3 separate regions of the Homo sapiens genome follow, and all the other regions are linked to region 1. Evidence: promoter capture Hi-C in human tissues and cell types (Jung and others, 2019). All regions are on one chromosome and are shown on one strand. Each heading gives the region's core, a stretch centred on a gene start or on the middle of the fragment in contact. The rest is flanking DNA. Distances are from core to core; before and after follow the strand shown. Region 1 holds the start of FMO4 (flavin containing dimethylaniline monoxygenase 4). Region 2 holds the start of MROH9 (maestro heat like repeat family member 9). Region 3 has its middle 45 kb from the start of MROH9.

What was found. Contacts are between HindIII fragments. The study calls those that stand out against the background at their distance.
Region 2: the fragment with the promoter of MROH9 here is called in contact with the fragment with the promoter of FMO4 in region 1 in 1 of the 25 tissues and cell types used here (stomach).
Region 3: a contact is called between a fragment that was not itself captured here and the fragment with the promoter of FMO4 in region 1, in 1 of the 25 tissues and cell types used here (aorta).

What each region holds. Positions count from the first base shown.
Region 1 is chr1:171,312,871-171,315,570 of GRCh38, forward strand. It overlaps FMO4 (flavin containing dimethylaniline monoxygenase 4), which reads left to right and starts at 1,313. Exons shown (of 10, transcript NM_002022.3): 1 at 1,313-1,543. The HindIII fragment of the contact is 8,197 bases long and covers 1-2,700 here.
Region 2 is chr1:170,934,262-170,936,961 of GRCh38, forward strand. It overlaps MROH9 (maestro heat like repeat family member 9), which reads left to right and starts at 1,273. Exons shown (of 22, transcript NM_001163629.2): 1 at 1,273-1,326. The HindIII fragment of the contact is 10,538 bases long and covers 1-2,700 here.
Region 3 is chr1:170,888,797-170,891,496 of GRCh38, forward strand. No RefSeq gene overlaps it. Among named protein-coding and RNA genes, the nearest start is that of MROH9, 45 kb to the right of the region's middle. The HindIII fragment of the contact is 4,840 bases long and covers 1-2,700 here.

The sequences.
Region 1 (2,700 bases), core at 63-2,562:
AGTCAGGGAGACCAGGAACCCACCGGAAGGAACTAACTCTGGACACAATATTTTTTTTTCTTTTTTTAAATTTTTTTCTTTATTTCTTCTAAAAAAAAGTGGGATGCATGTGCAGAACGTGCAGGTTTGTTGCATAGGTACACGTGTGCCATGGTGATTTGCTGCACCTATTGACCTGTTCTCCTCTAAGTTCCCTCTCCTCACCCCCTACCCTACAACAGGCCCTACAACATTCCCCTCTCTGTGTCCATGTGTTCTCATTGTTCAACTCCCACTTATGAGTGAGAACATGCAGTGTTTGGTTTTCTGTTCCTGTGTTAGTTTGCTGAGGATGATGGCTTCCAGCTTCATCCATGTCCCTGCAAAGGACATGATCTTATTTCTTTTTATGGCTGCATAATATTCCATGATATTTTTCAAAAGAAAATATTTGCTGCCAACAGAAGATTTTATATTAAAATCTGTATTTGCAGCTTTTACTGAAAAGAACCTAAGGCCTTGCCATATTGGGCTCATTTTCTCAAATAGCAACATTTAGCTGAACTGAATAGACAGAGAAAGTACTTTCCAGTCAGATCATATCTGGCCCACTTTCCTCGTGTATGTTACCCTCCTCACTCCTGTAGGCATTTGCATGTGTAGTCACAAGCAAATGTGGTTTAGAAATTGTTCAGTGAACCATGTTGGAAAATGTCCCTAAACACAAGTCCTAAAGATGGTCTGTTATATTATCTTACAAGCACACAGTGGAAGGAAAAACAGTTAAGTTTTCTATTTCTGCCACAGCTTCTATAATTATTACCTTTCTTGTGCCCTAGGTTAATATCTAAAAATAGCTTTATGCTTTCTCAAACACATTTCACCAGCTCCCTCTGCTGATCCAATCTGAAGGACAAAACAGCTTAAATTCCTTGTAAGTCCTGAACTTTAAAATCACATTTCTGGGGTTGGAGAACTCCAAGCATGAAAGAACTTGATGAGGTAATGGTCATCTAAATAACTTTCTCCTTTGGACAGCTCCTATGGTAATCCAAGCAAGAGTCAGGGTGTAGAAGTTTGTTTCCAAAAGTAGAACTCCTGTTTCGCTGAGAAAGCTGTAATTTGGGGTGATTTGGCGCCCTCTACAGACTATAATGGCAAAAGCGACGCTATCATGTGCTTCCCATAGCTTTAGGGCTTTGCCAGAACTATGACGTTGAGGAGGGTGGGGTAAAGGGGCAGGAAGCGTTTATGTTCTGCCAATCCAACAGCTGTATTCTAACTCACCATTCCGCCCTCCCTTAAGATCACGGAAGTATCACGCTTGCCTCTTACACAACTTTTTTTCCTTAGTCTGTATACTTTCTGCTGTCACTAGCATAACAGAAAAGACGAATGGCTTTTGTTTTAAACTGAGGGCACTTTTACAAAAGTCATCTTTCCATTTATTTTTCTTTCAGAAAAAAGAATTTGGGTTTTGAGCTTTTTTAAAAAAAAAAGACAAACACTTTCCTTGACTTTGAGAAATAATTTAAGTCAAAGAATCTGCTCTATGCTAACCAAGGTAAGTGTCCTGGATTTTTTTTTTAATGGGGAAATGATCCAGAAACTGCTTTCACAAAAGATGAATGTTTTTCTTGGAGTGTGTTCCTTAAGAATGAATGTGATTATCTTCTTTTGGGGTCTCTTGACTAGGGCTAAAGCAAGAGAATTAAGGAGAGAGTCAGGAAGCAAAGGGAAGTTGTAAGGAAACAAAGTTATGTTGTGGACAGAACCATCCAAAAGGAAAGTGTCAGTGAGATAAACAGAATCATGAGACTTTCAGTGACTCCAGTGACCTCTGATTTCATCTTATGAATGAGATGGAAATGCCAGCCATTGGGAAACAAATACCCCATAGATGGCGTGGGAAAAAAATACTGTAACAAAGCAAGAGCATGGTAGGATGATGATAAGAAACATAAAATGATCAAATTTCAAATTCAAAGAAATCATAATTGATTACATGATTTGCAAATCACCCAAGTCTCTCCATGTCTCATAAAGGATTCCTACATTTGCTGGTCAGTCAGGTATAGGGTGGGGTTTTCCCGTTGTACAAAGGTCTAGTTCAATAGGTCAGGTCTCCTTTCTGCCAAGGGACTAAATATAAGCAACCTATGGCTGGCACGGTGGCTCACGCCTGTAATCCCAGCACTTTGGAAAGCCGAGGAGGGCAGACCACTTGAGATCAGGAGTTTGAGACCAGCCTGACCAACATGGTGAAACCCCGTCTCTACTAAAAATACAAAAATTATCCAGGCGTGGTGCCGCCTGCCTGTAGTCTCAGCTACTCAGGAGGCTGAGGCAGGAGAATCACTTGAACCCAGGAGGTGGAGGTTGCAGTGAGCCGAAATTGTGCCACTGCATTCCAGCCTGGAAGACAGAGTGAGACTCCAACTCAAATAAATAAATAAATAAATATAAGCACCTTTGAGCAACCAAGTACCTTATGAAGTCCACTTTATAGTTTGCAGAGTTTGCACACACGTTCTCCCAATCCTTCAAGCCTGCAGTATTCTCGCCTACCTTTGAATTCATATCTTTTTTTTTTTGTGCACCAATTACTTGGTTTTCAGACATAAGAACAGTCCTTTCAAGCTTGAAGGAAACAAAGAGAAAGCCACTTGAACCCTCTGTTTTACAAATGTGGAAGCACTGGCTCAGAGAAATTGAGAATTG
Region 2 (2,700 bases), core at 23-2,522, 380 kb before region 1:
TATACTAAAACTAATTCAGAATGAACCAAAGACCTAAATGTAAGGCAAAAACTACAAAACTCTTAGAAAAGTTCTAAATCTAATCTCTGTGAAGTTGGGCCAGGGAATGCAGGCAATGTCTTTTTCTTTTTTTTTAGTTATGATACCAAAAACACAAGCAATAAAAGAAAAAGAATGGCAAATTTAAATTTCACTTAAATTTAAAACTTTTGTGCTTCAAGAGACACTGTCAAGAAAATGTAAAGGCAGCCCATAGAAAAGGAGGAATATTTGCAAATTATGTATCTGATAAGAGACTAGCATCTAGAACATATTAAAAAATCACAACTCAGTAATAAAAATCCAAACAGTCTAATCATAAAAAGTCACATATTGTATAAATCTATTTACATAAAATGTCCAGAAGGCAGACAGAAGATTAGTGGTTGCCAGGTACTTGGGGGAGAGGGAGGGTGAATGTCTGCTAACAGGTACAGGGTTTCTTTGGAGCTTGTTCTAAATGAAAATGTTCTAAAATTAGATAGTAATGATGGTTGTATACCTCTGTAAATATATTTAAAATGATTGAATTATATACTTTAAGATAAATTTTATGGTATGTGAATTATATTTTAATAACTCTATTATAAAAAGTGCTACAATAAACATCCTTCATGTCTCTCAGTGCATCAGTTGTATACATGTTTATACACTCTATGGACCTAGAACTGGAAATTCTGGGTTGTAGATTTTCAGTTTTGCTAGAACTTGACAAGTTTCTCTACAAACTAGTTATATCCATTTATAATCCCACCAGTCGTGTGAGAAAGTTCAACTTTCTTTTATCTTTGCCAATATTTGAAATTATCTTTTTTTAATTTTTACTTGTATTTTAGTACTTTTTAACTTATTAGCTGGGAAATAATATTTTAATGGTTTGTATTTTCATAACTTCAAGTGAGATTAAAAATCTTTTAAAATATTTATTGGCCATTCAGTTTTCCTTTTCTGTGAATTTTCTATTCTTATCCTTTGCCCAGCTTCTACTGGACTGTTGGTCTGAAGAACTATCTTTCAGTGCTTGTAACATAGAAACCAGAAACTTACCCACCCCTCAATAATGACAGGTGAGCATTAGTAGCCACTTGGGCATGCCAGGACATTCTACCACATTCATTCCAGAATGGAATCTTTGAAACATATGGTTGCCATGACGAGTGTCAACATTTCAAAGAATTTGCTTGGTTGATAACTACCTAGAGTATTTTACCTTTGGCTAAGAGGTAATATACTAGAGTTTCTCTTCACTACTTTGTCTCACCGTGATTACAGAGAAGTTACAAATATGTAAGTGAATTCCTATTAATATTTCTGTCATTCAAAAGCTTGTCTTTTTTTCTAATCCTGACTACTTTTCTTAATTTTTGTTCTGTTAAGAAAAAGAACCATGAATACATTAGAAAATTACGTTATGGCCCAGGTATGGTGGCTCACACCTGTAATCCCAGCACTTTGGGAGGCTGTGGGCGGATCATGAGGTCAGGAGGTCGAGACCACCCTAGGCAACTTGGTGAAACCCCATCTCTACTAAAAATACAAAAATTAGCTGGGTGTGGTGGCGGGTGCCTGTAATCCCAGCTACTCAGGAGGCTGAGGCAGGAGAATCACTTGAACTCGGGAGGTGGAGGTTGCAGTGAGCCGAGATCATGCTACTGCACTCCAGCCTGGCAACAGAGTGAGACAAAAAAAAAAAAAAAAAAAAAAAAAAGAAAAGAAAAAGAAAATTACATTACTATGGGCCCTCATCCAGAAATCTTGCCAAAGTTGGCAATTGGAAGAATTTGTCTTTATTCATTAATCTCCTAACTTCATGCCTTACTAGTAAGGATTATCTTATTAGTAAGGATGAGAGAAACCACAACTATATAGATAAATATATTTATTATAAGGTATTGGTTTACACAATAATAGAAGCTAGGAAGTCCTGGATTCTGCTTTCTGCAAGACAGAGACCCAGGAGATCCAATGGTGCAGTTTGAAGGCCTGAGAGCAAGAGAGTTGATGATAAAAATTCCAGCCTGGTTCTGAGGATCTGAGAACCAGAGCACCGAGGGCAGCAGATTTGTGTCCCAAGTCAAGTAGTCAGGCAAAGAGAAAACTAAGCATTCTTCTGCCTTCTTGTTTTATTCAGGCCCTCAATGGATTGGAAGATGTTGACCCACATTAGGGAGTGTCATCTCCTATCATCAGAACACCAATTTAAATGCTAATCTCTTCTGGAAATACCCTCACAGACATACCCCAAAATAATGTTTACCAGATATCTGGGCATCCTATGGCTCACTCAGTTTGACACGTAATATTAACTAACCATAATGAGTTCCCACGTTGAAAATTTGGCACCCATATACATATCCTTAAGCCATAGTTAATCTCCAAATAAAGTCAATAAGAAGCTCATAATTCCATTTAACATGTTGAAATGTAGTGGGATTGATAAGGAATCAGAGAGACCGATGGGGTTGAGAAGGATATTTATTATTTAGGTGCACCGGCCCAGTTGGATTAACCTCCAAAGGACTGAGCCCTGAACAAAGAGTTATCTTTTAATCATTTCGTGGGGTGGGGGAGATCTGTGTAGGGGGAAGCATATTACAGAAGTGAGAAACAAAGACAGTTATTCAATTAATTGAAACATGCATTACATCATTTCTTACTTTT
Region 3 (2,700 bases), core at 180-2,679, 420 kb before region 1:
TTTTGTATGGTGAGAACTACTTTTATTTAAAGCATTTTCTGTGTTTCATCCTCTCATTCCACTTCCATTATTACTTTCAGAATGTTTTATGTCTATGTAACCTCTGCTTTTTTCCTTGGTGTCTCATAATTACTGATCCTGGCTCCAAACTCTCTCCTATAACTATTCCCAGAGGCCATCCTCACTATGCTACAGCCTGTCTCTCTGTTAAGTTTTCATGAGGAATGTCTCTTTTGTGGCATTTACCAAAGGGAAAAAAATCTTCCAAGCTTCTCTAAATAGCATAAAGTAATTCTGTTCTCATAGTCTTAAAAAAGGCATTTCTCCCTTTTTCTTTTTTTCTTTTTTTTTTTTTTTTTTTTTTTTAATTCTAGGACTTGTCCCATCAGTAGGACCCATACAGTTAACCACATGAAAACTATTGGAGTAGGCTTTTAAAAAATCTTTGGTACGACGAAGACAGTGATTTACTAGATTTATTCTAAGTAATCATATGGGAATACTTTTTTATTTTCAGAAAAAATCAAATTAAACATGTGAGGTTTATTTTAAAAATTAGTATTTATGATTAGACTCAGCACAGGTAAGGAGTTCAATTGGATAAGGCCACTTAGTTTTTGTGCCTATCTTCTTATGAAGTGGTTGGTGACAAATTAGATTTTTCTATACTTCTAGCGCAAACTCAGTCATGCTTGAAGGCTTCAGTGTGATGACACTTGACCTGAACTGAAAGTATAAATGAGAAAGCGCCGGGTCACCCACTATTACATTTGGAAGTTGTTAAGTATTTTTGGAGTTCTATCAAGAGAAATTTGGAATAAAGTAAGACTAAGATTAACCACTAATTATGGAAAAGACAAGTAAGTGGAAAAAGGGTCCTGGTCTTTTAAGAGAACATCCAAAATCATGCTTTCAACTAACACCTCTTAGCAAAGTAGTGAAAAGCAGTGACCTAGGAATATGTTCAATACCTGCTTCAGCTACTTACTAACTGCAAGTGGTTTAACTTCTCTGGATTAATCATGGTTACCACCTCATAGGATTGTTGTGAAGTTTAAATGAAATAATGCGAGGAAAACATTTAGCACAGTGCCTGTTGATCCTAAGTGTTCAGAAAATATTCTAGCTAAAATACTGTGGTTGTTGTTGTTATTGTTGTTATTTTTATTATCTAGAGGTAAACCTTCAGTGCAGTCCAAGTCGTGTGACAGGACATTTGTATTTTGGTATCTTGCCCCCTGCCGCAAGCTTCTAAGCCTGTACAGCAGAATTGGATTTTTCTGTGATCAAGGTGTGGGGGCAGATAAGACAAATACCATCAATCTAGGAAGTAGATGGAAGCTACTCATTGGCACCAAGCAATCACACATCCTCAATGCGTGCTTGTTGAGGCAATTAACCTTCAGCTTCTATACGTATAGGTAGCTAGATTTCCTAATTGAGGAATTGATGCAGAGTGAATATACCATTCAAAGTCTCAGCATCCACAATCTCAGCATGTATCTTTATAAATCACATGACATAAATCCAATATTTTGGAGGAAGAAAGCTTGGCAAAAAGGAATTCGAAAACTATTCATTGATATTGGGGTTATTTAGGGAAGAGAGCAAGGAATAAAAAACGATTCGTTGACGTTGGGGTTATGAAGGGAAGAGAGCTACAAATGTAACATTCAACTTATTATCCAGATTCTGAAACAGGCCTTACAACCCAGGAACATTTAACATTTAGCACTTTAGTAGAATGTATAACATTTCTGTGTTTACCCACCACTGAGCTGGGCAAAAAGATGACTGGAATTATTCTTTACAATCAAAGAGCTTACATGATATTTTACAGTATAAGAAGCATAGATATTCCTATGTTCCTAAATTAATCTACCTCTCCCATTTTCAGCTTAGTTATTGTCAAATTTAGAGTATTTGTGAGCAGAAATAAAAGCCCTTTGCCCCCAGACTGTATGGCTTGCTCTGAATTTTGGAAAGCCAGGTTTCTGGTCAAGCAAGCAGGATTTGAATTGCAACGAGTCAGTGAAGACAGTCAAATGCTGGGCTGGCCAGCCATTTGCCTGATAGCTGCCTCTATTTAGAGACTGTGAAGAACCAAGGAAAGACAGCCAGAATCAAACCCGCTTCCAGCTTCATCCTCTTCCTACCTCCACACACCATCATTTGTTTCCCAAACAATTATTAACTAGTCTTTGCCACTATATATCTGAGTAAAAAATTCACCCAAAACTCACTGACTTAAAAGAACATTTATTTCCATGAGTCCGTGGGTTGGCTGAACTGGGATGGATGCTGTGCTCAGCTGGGTGGATCTACTTGAAGCTGTGTCTCCCTAGATGCCATTGCTTCCCACTACAGGTCTGTGGGCCAGCCTGGAGTCTCTACTTCACATATCTCATTATCCTAAGAGTCCCAGAAACAGGCACACTTCTTCATTCATGGAGGGAGCAGAGGCAAAAGGGAACAAGAGGAAGTATATGAGTCCTGTTAAGGCCCAGGTATGAAACTGACCCATTGTCACTCTTGTCCCCAGGATCAAAGCAAGTCACATGGCCAAGCCCAAAGTCTATGAAGCAAGAAAATACACTCCACCAATGATGGGGCTATGACTAAATATGGAAGCAAGAAAGTGTGAAGAATGGGAGCCAATCTTTCAGCCTACCACTCTGAATCACTCCCAATCCTAAGCTA